5 separate regions of the Homo sapiens genome follow, and all the other regions are linked to region 1. Evidence: promoter capture Hi-C in 16 types of primary human blood cells and fetal thymus (Javierre and others, 2016). All regions are on one chromosome and are shown on one strand. The core of a region is centred on a gene start or on the middle of the fragment in contact, and the rest is flanking DNA. Distances in the headings are between cores, read along the strand shown.

What was found. The method cuts DNA at HindIII sites, captures the fragments that hold promoters and counts their contacts. A CHiCAGO score of 5 or more calls a contact.
Region 2: a fragment that was not itself captured here is called in contact with the fragment with the promoter of RBPMS in region 1 in 1 of 17 cell types (endothelial precursors); the score reaches 9.3 in endothelial precursors.
Region 3: a contact is called between a fragment that was not itself captured here and the fragment with the promoter of RBPMS in region 1, in 2 of 17 cell types (endothelial precursors and megakaryocytes). The highest score is 11.1, in endothelial precursors.
Region 4: a fragment that was not itself captured here is called in contact with the fragment with the promoter of RBPMS in region 1 in 3 of 17 cell types (endothelial precursors, M1 macrophages and M2 macrophages); the score reaches 7.3 in endothelial precursors.
Region 5: a fragment that was not itself captured here is called in contact with the fragment with the promoter of RBPMS in region 1 in 1 of 17 cell types (endothelial precursors); the score reaches 11.3 in endothelial precursors.

What each region holds. Positions count from the first base shown.
Region 1 is chr8:30,383,198-30,385,897 of GRCh38, reverse strand. RBPMS (RNA binding protein, mRNA processing factor) reads right to left here and starts at 1,357. Exons shown (of 9, transcript NM_001008710.3): 1 at 740-1,357. The coding sequence starts at 805. RBPMS-AS1 (RBPMS antisense RNA 1) reads left to right here and starts at 497. Exons shown (of 3, transcript NR_046205.1): 1 at 497-754; 2 at 2,201-2,354. RefSeq lists enhancers at 228-899, 900-1,570. The HindIII fragment of the contact is 8,815 bases long and covers 1-2,506 here.
Region 2 is chr8:30,515,219-30,517,918 of GRCh38, reverse strand. The region is part of intron 5 of RBPMS (RNA binding protein, mRNA processing factor); the gene reads right to left. Among named protein-coding and RNA genes, the nearest start is that of SMIM18, 120 kb to the left of the region's middle. The HindIII fragment of the contact is 206 bases long and covers 1,304-1,509 here.
Region 3 is chr8:30,605,130-30,607,829 of GRCh38, reverse strand. GTF2E2 (general transcription factor IIE subunit 2) reads left to right here. Exons shown (of 8, transcript NM_002095.6): 6 at 680-773. Among named protein-coding and RNA genes, the nearest start is that of SMIM18, 32 kb to the left of the region's middle. The HindIII fragment of the contact is 595 bases long and covers 1,101-1,695 here.
Region 4 is chr8:30,198,994-30,201,693 of GRCh38, reverse strand. No RefSeq gene overlaps it. Among named protein-coding and RNA genes, the nearest start is that of DCTN6-DT, 44 kb to the right of the region's middle. The HindIII fragment of the contact is 574 bases long and covers 1,160-1,733 here.
Region 5 is chr8:30,535,040-30,537,739 of GRCh38, reverse strand. All of the region lies in intron 5 of RBPMS (RNA binding protein, mRNA processing factor), which reads right to left. Among named protein-coding and RNA genes, the nearest start is that of SMIM18, 100 kb to the left of the region's middle. The HindIII fragment of the contact is 982 bases long and covers 912-1,893 here.

The sequences.
Region 1 (2,700 bases), core at 108-2,607:
GAACGCTCCGCAGTCACAAAACTTTCATCATGATTACGGACGCACCACCTAAAATGCATGCTCAGAAGTCAAAGTCCTATGAAAATACCCTCGATGAGCATTTGGTGAATTGCTGCGTTTTTAACCCTCTTACTCTGCTCCCCTCAGCTGCACGGCCCCTAAAATCACAAGCGTTCACCGCCCAGGCTCGGGGTCTTTGACTCAGCAGAGAAGAATGTGGCTGATGAGTTATCTATTAATCCAAAAAACCTCGGCTAGAAAGATATTTCACCAAGAACTTTTAACACGGAAAGGGAGGGGGCAGGGAATAGAGGTATCTTTTAACGAGAACTTTCCCCCGAGTTTCTTCCTTAAACTGCTCCCCCCCCGACCCTGAATCCATACACAATTTCCAGCCCCGGCCCTAAGTCCTGACCCTCCGAGTCCCGATTATCTGAGGTCACCCAGGAGTCAGCTCTCGGTTCCACTTATAAATCCCGGGCAAACAAAGCTGAGCATTATACTTACAAAAGTCTCCGAAAAGTCCTTGGAGTTACGCAATTTGGGGCCCGCAGACGCGCGTGGACACAAAAACACACGCTCCCGAGATCCACCCTCCCCGGGCCACACTGTGGGGCTGCGTCCGGGGCACGGGCCATGCCTGAACCTTCTTCCACCGCCGCGCCCCGGGCCCGCGCCCCGCCGGCCGCCCGCACTGGGTCCCGCGTCGCCCCCGCCACCACACCGAGCCGCCCAGTACCTCCTCCTCCTGAAGGTTGGCCTCGCTCGGGGTGTTCTCCTTCTCGGCTTTGCCGCCGTTGTTCATCTTCCCGGTCCTTCCTCGCCGGGCCGGGCAGGGCTGGGGCGCGGGGCTGGGCGAGGGCGCGCTAGCCCACTGGAGCCTTCCCCGGGCGCCGGGGCTCCCTCGGGCGGGCGCCGCGGGCTGTGGGGCTGGAGCTGGAGCCGGGGCAGTGGCTGTCGGGCTCGGGTTGGGCTGGGGCTCCCGCGGCGAGTCTGCGACGGCGGCGGCGGGCGACTCAGGAAGTGCAAGGGAGAGACGGGGCAGGGCGCGGGCCGGGAGCGGGGCACCGAGACAATCGGGCCCCGGGAGGGCGACCTGGAGAGGGAGGGCGGGAGCCAGGGGAGGAAGGAAGAAGGAAGGAAGGAAGGAAGCAAAGGATGGGGCGAGGACGCGCGTCCCAGGAGTAAGCGCGGAGAGTTGGGGCTGGGGGCTGCAGCCGCTGGAAGGAGGGGACGGGGGTGCCTAGAGAGGAGGAGGAGGAGGAAGAGGAGGAGGAGGAGCGGGGCGGAGGAGCGCGGGCCGCGGCTGGGACGCTGGGACCCGAGAGCCGCTGAGTACGCGCTCCAGGCAGGCTCTGGGAAGTCCGGGATGGAAGCAGCTCCCTTTCTCTCGCCTTCCTCCCTCCCCTCTCCCCTCCCTCCTCTCCGCGCCTCTCCTCCTCCCTCCGCCCTCCCTGGACGTGGGCTGCCGGCTGCAGCCCGGAGGGACGGGGCGCGGGACGGAGCCCCCCGCGGGAGGAGGGGCCGGCGGCCGGATGGCGCGCGCCGGGGAGGGGCAGCGGGCCGCGGGCGGAAGCGGCGACCCCAGCCCCCGACTCAGCGGCTGGTCGGAGGGCGAGGGCCCGGGAGGCCGAGGGCAGGGAGGTCGGGTCCCGCCGTTCCCTTGGCCCCCGGGGGCCCCGGCGTCTGCGCGCCCCGGGACTTCGGGGACCCTGCCCCGCCGGGGCCTGGACCGGGACCTGGGATGTGTGCGACTTTTAGTTTGCCGGCTTTTACCGAGGGATTTGCACCCCTGGCCCTAAGCCCACCCTTCCCGAGCCAGACCCGGTTCTTCCTCTGCTGCTTGAATGACAGCATGAGAACTCGAGGGACACCGGGGACAGCCCACTCCGGGCCGGCTTTTTCAGGACAGGGCTTCAAACCCATCTCCAGCGCGGGTCCTGCGACGCGCCCGGAGCCTTCCCCGCTTCGCTTCCTGAGCGTCCCGCGGCCCCCCGACTCCTCTCCCAACTCTCACCAGACTGTTCTGGGATTGTTTACCTGGCCTCTCCCTCACCCTTCAGAAAGCTCCTTCCTGGAAGAAAAAAAAAAATCCTGCCCTATTTATCTTTTTAATCCCACGGCTATTTAAACGGGCTAAGGGGTATATAGCAGGCACTCAATAAATATTTGTTGGCAAAGTGAATATTCCTTATTGCAGGCAGAGCTGGGGGTCCGTACGGAGGAACTTCAGAGGCTGGAAGCACGCTTGAAAAAGAAAGGGGGCCTGGGCTTTGCACCAGCTTCAGGATTGCGTACTTGTTTCCTCATCCGTGAAATGGGAGCAGCTGAATGTGTCTCCTCGAGTTTTCGAGGTGATTATAGGTTGATAGAGCTATATACAGCACCCAGCATTTATTCTTGCTTCGTTTAGGTTTACAATACATGGAAGCTAACATTATTATTAAGAAAACTTCTATTTTTCCAGGGCCTTAGAAAGCGTTTCCAATACTCGATCATTTAAGCTTATGGTTTTTTGGTTTTTTTTTTTTTTAGAAAAATGAGGGTCTCACTTTGTTGCTCAGGCTGAGCTCGAGCTCCTGGCCTCAAGTGATCCTCCTGCTTTTGGCCTCCCAAACTGATGGGATTACAACGTGGAGCCACCGTGTTAAACTCTTAGATTTGACTGCTACAAAGGTATAAATGTGGAACTCCATATAT
Region 2 (2,700 bases), core at 157-2,656, 130 kb before region 1:
CCCTACACTTTCAGTTTTTGATCCTCACACTGGACACCCCTTCAGTCTGTCGATCTGTTTCCACAATTTCTACTTAACTGAAATCTTTCTCATGTTCAGCTAAAAGCGGAAGACCACCAGGTCTTTCCCATACACTGAATAATGATTGGCTTCATCAGTTGCACAAGCATTGTCTATAACTTCAACTGAACACTTGCTCTACCTTACACACGGCAGCTCCTTACAGGCCTGTTTCCTCTACTATGTGTAAACACTCCAAGAGCAGAACTGTACCTTATTCAGCTTTTTAATCTCTCACCTCCCCTCAAATGTTTGCTAAACTCAAGTGAGAAAATTAGAACAGGAACTCACCATAATTTCCTGCACAGAACTGTTAATGTTTGACCAGTTTGATCTCCTTGACCTTCTGAGGGCTATTTAATTAAAAGACAGAAAGACACCCCTCCACCTTCAGCCACTAATTAAACTATTTTGTTTAAGTAGAGATACTGCTGCTCCTCCACTGTATCTCAGTATAGCTAGGGTCCTAGTGGCTACACGAAGCACAGAATGAAAAGAAGGATAAGGGACCTGAGTTTGCACAGATTACATTATACTTACCCAGAGATTTAACTCTCTAAGCGACCATCATTTCTGCCAATGTTTTCCAAAATGAAAAGAGCTTTGGTTACATGGTATTTCACACACACACACACACACACACACACACACACACACACACACACACACGGGGTCTTGGCCTATATATCTATTGATAAACAAAAAAAATAAGGTCTAGAGCTGAGAATGAAAGCAGGTATCAGAGCAGGATGTAATGTCAAATCCCATTCATACAATATCTATGTGTATATCTGTATAGCTATTCATCCAAAATGTTAAAATACTTATCTCTGGGTGGGTAACATAATTTTCAGCATTCAATTTTTAAAACATACAGATTGAAATAAGTTATATTATTAAAAAAATCAATTCACATGAGGAAAACTCATGTGTGTCTGTGTGTGTGTGTGTGTGTATTTAGAGATGGAGTCAAGCTATGTTGGCCAGGCTGGAGTGCAGTGACCATTCACAGACAAGATACACTATAGCCTTAGATTCCCGGGCTCAACTCCTTCTCTTGCTTTAGCCTCCTGAGTAGCTGGGACTACAGGCGTATGCCACTATACCTGGTTTTATATACACGTATTATAAAAACTATGTTTTTGGAATGCCTTAAATCTTTGTATTTAAAAAATTTTATAAATGCCTTACATCTTTGTATTAAAAAATTTTTGTTTAATTTCCACATTTCTTGAAATAAGCTTGTACCACATTTGGAACTGGTATTGTGGTGGGAGAGAATTGGGCATTTGTGAAAGATACTTGGGTAGAGTCTCCCAAGGAGGTACTATATGAACGGCTGGTATGTTATCCAGCTCATCATACAACCAGTTACTCGTGGGCTAGTCACTACAGAATACACAGCAGAAATAAAAGACCCATTTTAAAGGAGAGGCTGACACAAAAGCTTGCAGGTGTTTTTTCTTTTTTGAGATACAGTTTCACTCACTCTGTCCCCCAGGCTGGAGTACAGTGGCACGATCTCAGCTCACTGCAACCTCTCCCTCCTGGGTTCAGGCAATTCTCCTGCCTCAGCTTCCTGAGGAGCTGGAATTACAGGTGCCCCACCCTCCACCACAGCCGGCTAATTTTTGTATTCTTAGTAATGATTGGGTTTCACCATATTGGCCAGGCTGGTCTTGAACTACTGACCTCAAGTAATCCGCCCTCCTCGGCCTCCCAAAGTGCTGCAATTACAGGCGTGAGCCACTGTGCCTGGCCAAAAAATGTTAATTTTAAATTATTAGGACCAGAAGTTTTTAAACTTTGGTTTTAGGACACCTTTACACACGTAAAAACGATCAAGCCTAAAAGAACTTTTGTGTGGTTTTGTACCATGTTATAAACTTTTGAAGTTAAAAAAGGTAAGGGGCCAGGTACGGTGCCTAAGGCCTATAATGGCAATACTTTGGGAGGCTGAGGTGGGAGGATTGCTTGAGCTCAAGACCAGCCTGGGCAACAAAGCGAGGCCCCATCTCTACAAAAAAATTAGAAAATTAGACAGGCAAGGTGGTGCGTGCCTGTAGTACCAGCTACTCAGGAGGCTGAGGCAGGAGGATCACTTAAGCTCAGGAGCTGGAGGCTGCAGTGAGCTGTGATGGCATCACTGCACTCTAGCCTGAAGAACAAAGTAAGACCCCCATCTCTTAAAAAAGAAAAAAAGTTTATTAATTCATGTTTTTTAAAATATTTTAGTGAAATCTACATATTTAGAAAAAAAGATAAAACTTTAGATCTACATATTTGCAAATCTCTTTAGTATCTAGTTTAATAGAAGACAACTGGTTTCTTATACCTGCTTCAAATTAAATCTATTGTAACATATTGTATTGGCTGTAGTATATGAAAAAAATATGGTCTCACAGAGACATGCATCTAGCTGGTCAAAGGAGTAATATTTCAATACCCTTTACAGGTAACTGGATATTCTTCTCTGCTATTACACCAACACTTATTAAGGGGTGGTTATTAAAGATGTCTTGGATTATGGAATCTGAAACCTTATCAATGAGCTTTCCTATTATGTTCCATTAAAATCCATTGTCCTGGCCTGGTGTGGTGGCTCACACCTGCTATCCCAGCACTTTGGGAGGCTAAGGC
Region 3 (2,700 bases), core at 149-2,648, 220 kb before region 1:
TGATGAGTAAGGAGCGAAATATCTCAAGGTAGAGGAAAAGTAAGAACACCAAGATTCTATTATGTGTCTTAGATTAGTGAAAGAGCCCCATGGACCCAAATAGTAATTGCAGCAAAGATTGAATTTTCCGTTTTAAGTGAAACACGTTTTATTTTTGTTCTTTGGAAGACCTCTAAGAATACAAGTCTGGAAATATCAATTTTTAAAAAATTGAACTACTCAAGAAAGAAACTCAAAAACTAAAATTGGGGCTGAGTGCAGTGGCTCACACCTATAGTCCCTGTACTTTCTGATGCTGAGGTGGGAAGATCGCTTGAGCCCAGGAGTTCAAGACCAGCCCTGGCAACATAGTGAGACCCTTTGTCTACAAAAAATTGAAAACATTAGCTAGACGTGGTGGCAATGCACCAGTGGTCCCAGTTACTCCAGAGGCTGAGGTGGGAGGATTGCTTGAGCCTGGGAGGTTGAGGCTGCAGTGAGCTGCACTCCAGTCTGGGTGGAGTCTCTTAAAAACAAAACTAAAACTAAAATTGGGTCCAGTGGACCTATGGTGGAGGACCCTATGGTGGTATACTGAGTGTGTTAAGGAAATGAAACTCCTTTATTGTTTAAATTTTTTTTTTTTTTGGTGAGGTAATTTGGAGTTAACTGAAAAATCTTTATTTTATCTATCTTTAAGGCTTTGGGGGACCAGATACTATTTGTAAATCGTCCCGATAAGAAGAAAATACTTTTCTTCAATGATAAGAGCTGTCAGTTTTCTGTGGATGAAGGTGAGCTTTTCTGTATTATACTTTAGTTTGCAAGTATATTACAATTTTAGGGTGGTAAAATTAATATTTATAATACAATTATAATTTAAATCTTATATTGCTTTTTTAGCATTATCATTTCTTAGAACACAGCCAGTGGCCCCTGTGTCTAACATATTGTTGCTTAGAATGCAATTTGAAATATGTGATTTGAAAGATTTTAGGTTAATTATACTTACAATCGCAGTTCAGGATTTCTTAATGTTTATAGCTCAACTGAACCAAACGGGTTTATTTCTTTATCTTTAGACTTTTACAAATGTAAGTTCATATCCTGATACAAAAGCTTGATACAGGATGGGAAAAAGAATAAACTTTTATTGGTGAATAGTGTTCTCTTATCTTATGAATCTTTCAGTTATCAAATTGAATAAGGAAGGAGATGATGTTTTTCTTTCTGGAAATTGTGGAGTTGGATGCTAAGCTGTATATTGAATCTCTTACTAAGTATATGATACGTATGTTTGGACTTTAGTTTTAAATTTTTGTCAATAATTTGTCATTAAACAAGGGTTTAGTGATGAAAAATGTATTATTCAAGTTTACCAATTGCCATTTTAGCAAGTGTTGGTGGTATTTTACTGTAAATTTGTATTACTTTTGAAGTTTTATAAAATGGCAGGAAAATAATTGGACATCAATTTAATTGATTTTGTGATTTGTGCAGTAACCTTAAGTTTTCCTTTTGTTATCTGTCTATAGATATCCAGGCTTGTGGTTCTGGTAGATAGGGCTTTAGTTTCCCTGAACTTGTTTTAGGAAATTGTATTTTTGTGAAAATCCCAATTGAGTATCTTACATGTAATTGGTTCACAATAAATGTTAATTAAATAAAAATGTGCAGAATATTCCAGTTCTTTGATGTTGTTGTTTCTAATAAGCTTTTATATAACAAAGCAAGTATGTAGTGAACTTATGCTATCCATTGTAGTGATAGGTGCCTGTTGAACAAAGACTTCAGTACTGCCTGGCGATTTTTATATTGCTTTCAGTCTTCGTTACTTGCAATGTTGCCTTTATGCTAATTTTTATATTTCTTGCTTTTGAAAACATTTAAGGCTGGGCATGGTGGCTCATGCCTCTAATCCTAGCACTTTCAGAGGCCAAGGTGGGAGGATCGCTTCAGGCTAGGAGTTCAAGACCAGCCTGGGCAAAAAAGTGAGACCCTATCTCTATTAAAAACTGAAAAATTAGCCAGGCTTGGTGGCGCATGCCTGTGGTCTCAGCTACTCACAAGGCTGAGACAAGAGTATAGCTTGAACTCAGGAGTTAGAGGTTACGGTGAGCTGATTGTGCCACCGCACTCCAGCCTGGGTGACAGAGTGAGACTCTGCCTTTAAAAAAGAAAGTTAAAAACCATTTAAGATATTTCTGAGCTCAAAAAAAAAAAAATCTAAGAAATAACCGATTCCTTTATTCTTAGGTATAATAACAATCATTTTGAAAAATATTTGCAGTACTTAAAAAAACCTATCACAAGTATTACAAGTTCAGATAGAGAGTAAGAGCCTATACTAAAAGGCAGATGTGCCTTTCCCTTCTCTAGCTGCAGTCCCTTTCTTTTGTGGCAGCTGCTTAACTAGTTTTATTTTGGATTCTTCAGTTTTTTCCCAATTGCTAATAATATGCTTATGCTATTGTTTCTTGATTTTTTTTCAACTTTAAACATTGTGTGACTTACTGTCATTTCTCTTTCCTATACCTATCTCTCTCCTCCCAATATAGTTGTATCTCTAGTTAAGTTTTAGTTTCTCCGTCATTTACTTTGATGCCTTCAACAAACATATTTAAATGTTCTCAGTGGGAATTTTAGTGTTAAGTCTGCTCTGCAGATGGCAGCATAGTGTAGCATGTCTGTTGTGTAAGCAGATGTTTAACTTGAGGCGGG
Region 4 (2,700 bases), core at 197-2,696, 180 kb after region 1:
TCTTTATAAAGGATAAGATTATTGTTACTCTGTAAATTTATTTTAATTTCTTTACCTGATAGCTCAATTAGAATTATTACTGTTATCATTTGTTCAGTAATAGGATATAAATTTTTAATATTTCAGCCATTAAAATACAGCATTGTGTAGAATTAGTTGAAATTTTATTAACATGTTGTCCACAATTAGTTCACCAAAATCAATGAATTTTACCTTGTGAACATTATTCAAATACTTTCCAAATGCAAATTGTGATGCGTGCCCCAAACTTTGTAAATGTCCTGTTAAGATGGATTACGAATAGTTCATACAGAAATTGAAGAACTTCTTCTGTGGGTTATCCTTGGGTGGCCTCTACTGAACTTGTAATTTATCAAAGAAGGGCCAAATAGGTGTCAATGAAAAGAGTCAAACTCTGTAAAATATTTGAAGGGATTTATTCTGAACCAAATATGAGTGACCATGGCCCGTGACACAGCCCTCAGGAGGTCCTGAGAACATGTGCCCAAGGTGGTGGGGGAGCAGTTTGGTTTTATACATTTTAGGAAGGCATGAGACATCAATCAAATACATTCAAGAAATACATTAGTTTAGTGCAGAAAGGCGGGACAACTCAAAGCAGGTGCTCTCAGGCTATAGGTAAATTTAAACGTTTTCTGATTGACAATTGGTGGAGTTTGTCTAAAGACCTGAGATCGATAGAAATGAAATATTCAGGTTAGAATAAAAAATTGTGGAGATCAGGGTTCTTCTGAAGTCTTATAGTGGCTGCCCTTAGACACAATAGATGACAAGTGTTTCCTATTTAGATGTTTAAAAGGTGCTGGAGTTTTAATTAATCTCTTCAGGATTGAGAGGACCTGGAAGAAAAAAATCTAGCTATGTTAACAGAGATTCTTTACAGATGCAAAATTTCCCCCAGAAAGAACATCTTTGCCAGGCCATATCAAGATATGGCAAAGAAACATGTTTTGGGGTAAAATATTTTGATTTTCTTCCTTGTCCTGTGAAGTTATGCCAGAGTCAGGTTGGAAAGTAAGTCATGATAGATAGTGTTAAATAAAAGCCATCTGATGAGAATTTGTGGTTTGTAGGGCATGACTCTCCAGGCCCCTTAGACAGGAATTTGGGCAAGATTAAAAAAAAAAAAATCAAAGCTTAGTCTTCCTAGGTATCCAAGTCAGACTGTCTGTATTTGAATCCAGGCTGTACTACTCACCAAAAAACCTTGGGCTAGTTATTATATTTGTTTCCCTGACAGGATTTCTCCACAGGAAAATCAGGTATTAGTGGTATCTAATCATAAGGTTTTTGTGGGCTTTTAGGAAGACAATCCATTTAAAGCAGCTAGGAAAATGCCTAGCACACAGTAGGTAACCATTATTTTCTTATCTCTATGATTAATATAGAATATTAGTAACTATTGTTAAGCTGCTTCTGTTGAAAGACCCTTTTCCTGACTTGTATTAATCAGGACTTTCTAGAGGGACAGAACTAATAGGATAGATATATATATGAAAGAGATTTTATTAAGGAGAATTGACTCACACAATCACCAGGTAAAGTCCCACGATAGGTTGTCTGCATGCTGAGGGGCAAGGAAGGTAGTGGTGGATCAGTCCGAGTCCCAAAACCTCAAAAGTAGGGAAGCCGACAGTGCAGCCTTCAGTCTGTGGCCAAAGGCCCGAGAGCCCCTGGCAAACCACTGGTGTAAGTCCAAGAGTCCAAAAGCTTAAGAACTTGGAGTCTGATGTTCGAGGGCAGGAAGCAGCCAGCACGGGAGAAAGATGAAGTCCAGAAGACTCAGCAAGTCTGCTCTTCCATCTTCTCCTGCCTGCTTTATTCAGCTGGCAGCTGATTAGATGGTGCTTACCCAGAGTAGGGGTGAGTCTGCCTCTCCCGGTCCACTGACTCAAATGTCCATCTCCTTTGGCAACACCCTCACAGACGCACCCACGAACAATACTTTGCATCCTTCAATCCAATCAAGTTGACTCTCAATATTAACCATCACAAGTATCGTCCTGTGTACTTGTGCTCACAGAGTAAGGGCTAAGGTTGAGTCAAGGTCAAGGTCCAGTCAAGGCTTTCCTCTTCATACGGTTTGACTGTGTCCCCAACCAAATCTCATCTTGAATTGTAGCTCCCATAATTCCTACATGTCAAGGGAGGGACCCGGTGGGAGGTAATTGAATCATGGGGGTGGGTCTTTCCCATGCTGTTCTCCTGATAGTGAATAAGTCTCACGAGATCTGATGGTTTTATAATGAGGAGTTCCCCTGCACATGCTCTCTTGCCTGCCACCATGTAAGACACCCCTCGCTCTTCCACCATGATTATGAGGCCTCCCCAGCATGTGGAACTGTGAGTCAATTAAACCTCTTTCCATTATAAATTACCCAGTCTCGGGTATGTCTTTACTAGCAGCATGAAAACAGACTAATACACCTTTCCTGTGAAACTTCCCTCTGTTTCTCAGACAAAGTGAGTATCCTCTCTGGGTTCCCTGGGCATTCCTCCACACTGAATTGGAATTAACTGTTTAGCTGGGCTCCCTCTCTAGACTGTAGGTACTCTGAAGACAGGAACTCTGTTATTCTCCTCTGAACCCCATAACAGTTTGTTGAATAAATACATGAATAAAAAAAGAGCAGAGGCTCTCCTGAGGGACAGCATAGAAGAGGTTACTGAAAACATGGA
Region 5 (2,700 bases), core at 153-2,652, 150 kb before region 1:
CAGGAGCCCCTTTTACCTTATGAGAAAGCTGAGACACAGCGAGGTTAAATATCCAGCCCAACGACTCTCACAGAGCCAGGATGTGAATCAATCAAGATCATGAGTCCAGACCCTTCACTTCTGCACTTCACTGCCTCTCTCCATGTTCATTAGCTCCACCTACTGATGATAAAGACATATTCTCTATGTAAAGACATATTCTCTATGTCTTTCTCATTCCCATCCCTACTTCTATTACCCAAATGCGGGTTCTCAGCCAGACTGACTTTAACTTCCACCGTCTCCCCACTCCACTATTTCTCTGATACAAACTGCAGAAGCAACAAGTTTTCTGCAAAAAAGCAAGCAGACCCCAAAATAAATATGCCAAGGAAATTCCAAAAGCAAGCTGGTCATGATTCAACTGGCCCAGAGTCACTTTTCCATTTAATGATTTTCTGCTGTTCTGACCAGTCACTGCTTTGATGGTTGTCTTCTTCCTTTGCTGCCCACTTCTTCGAGGCTAAGAAATCATGCGATGCAATCCAGGATTTTAAAAGGATCTGCTTTCTAATCAGAGTTGAAGGGAACCCTGAGCATGAGTGGGAAGAAAACTGTTCCTCTGGGAACTTAAGCCACTACTATTACCTACTCTTACTCATCACATGGGGACATTTTCATTCCTCCTCCTTCCTATGACCTGCAGCTGCTGGGATGAGGGTTACCCAGAGTTTCCCCAGGAAAGTCTATTCCCTGGCATTAGCAGAATATTCCAAGTGTCTGCCAGCCTCTCTGCGAGCCTGGATTTTGACAACTGCAATCAAGTCTGGATGTTTAACAGGAGCTGTATTTTCAAAACGTAATGGTTTTACATCTATGAACAACATAAGAAAATCTGCTCAGTCCCACTCTGCTAGAGACCTGGGTAAGCTTCATGAGAGCAGCATACTGTTCTGTTAGATTCACTACTGTGCCCGCCACAAAGGAGGTCCACAAAGGAGAAAGAGTAGAAAAGGAAGGAAAATAAATTTCTTCTAACATAAAAAAAGTGTTTCAGGAAGTATATCTTCAGGGCAACTTGAATCTATGATTCAGGTGGAAATTAATTTTTTAAAAATAAAAAATTTATAAACAAACAAAAACAGTGTTTTAGTATAACTTTCATTTGTCACTCACACACCTCTTCTGGCATACATCTGTTATTTGGTGAGGGAGGAAAGGGAGCAAGGGAGAAGGATGGTTATGACAGCAAGGGGAGGCAGAGGTGTCTTTTCAATGAAATTGAAATTGCTGCTTGGGTACATCTCTATCTAGTCCATAAAAAGAGATGATCTCGCCAGGCGCGGTGGCTCACGCTTATAGTCCCAGCACTTTGGGAGGCCGAGGCGGGCGGATCACCTGAGGTCGGGAGTTCGAGACCAGCCTGGCCAACATGGAGAAACCCCGTCTCCACTAAAACTACAAAATTAGCTGGGCGTGGTGGCACATGCCTATAATCCTAGCTACTAGGGAGGCTGAGGCAGGAGAATGGCTTGAACCTGGGAGGCGGAGGTTGCGGTGAGCCGAGATCGTGCCATTGCACTCCAGCCTGGGCAACAAGAGTGAAACTCCATCTCAAAAAAAAAAAAAAAAGAGAGAGATGATCTCTTATTGAACTATAAGGTCCCTGAGTGCAGGGCCTGTGTCTGTTGTGCTTACTGCTGTATCTCCAGTACCTAGCATAGCGCATGTTACATAGCAGACATTCATTCATTCATTATTTATTGATTTATTTTAGAGACAAGGTCTCACTATGTTGCCCAGGCTGGAGTGCAGCAGCTGTTCACAGGTGTGATCATCAATGTGCACTACAACTTCAACTCCTGAGCCCATGTGATCCTCTCTCCTCAGCCTTCCAGATAACCTTGCCAAGCTTTCAGAAATGAACATTTTTAAGGATCTCAATACACCTAACTGTGCTGTTTGAATGTATAATCCCCAAAGTAGCAACATTTGTACCAAATTTTAATGTAACAACACTGGGAATCATCCTTAAAAACAGAACAGGGCACATGCTTGTAATCCCAGCTACTACAGAGGCTGAGGTGGGAGGATCACCTGAAGCCAGGAGTTCAAGGCCAGCCTAGGCAAACATAGTGACACCCTATATCTAAAGAAATGTTATTAAAGTCTATTATTTTAATGTAGATTTCTTTGATAATTAATGAAGCTGATCTAATGAACTTTCCATTTCTTAGCAGGGACTCTTAGTTGGGACAGGTGCTGCCTAAAAGAGTCTTCATCAAGGCATGGAGCACTCTTGAAAATCCAGTAAAGACCAGATATCCTTTCTTACACCTCCCAAAACAGGCTATGTGTACCCTGAACACTGCACCTACTGCTTATACGAAAAATTTTCTTTTTCTGTGTCTATGTCCTTCACAAAACTGTTATCTCCTATCCTTAGCACATATGTCTGGCACACAGAACATATTCAAGAAAAGTTAGTTAAAATTAACGATATTACAAAGTGCCTACAACTAACTTAAAACTAGCAAGAGGATATAAACTTCAGAATTATGTAATCCACCCAATGATTTACAGTTTAGCACATTTCCTTGACTTTTAAGAAAATGTCAGTTTTCTTAAATCTGCAAAGGTTCCAGTCCTTGACGAAAAAAGGTGGAAACTACTAACTTGTCATAGTTATCAGTTTTTTTTTTTTTTTTTTTTTTTTTTTTT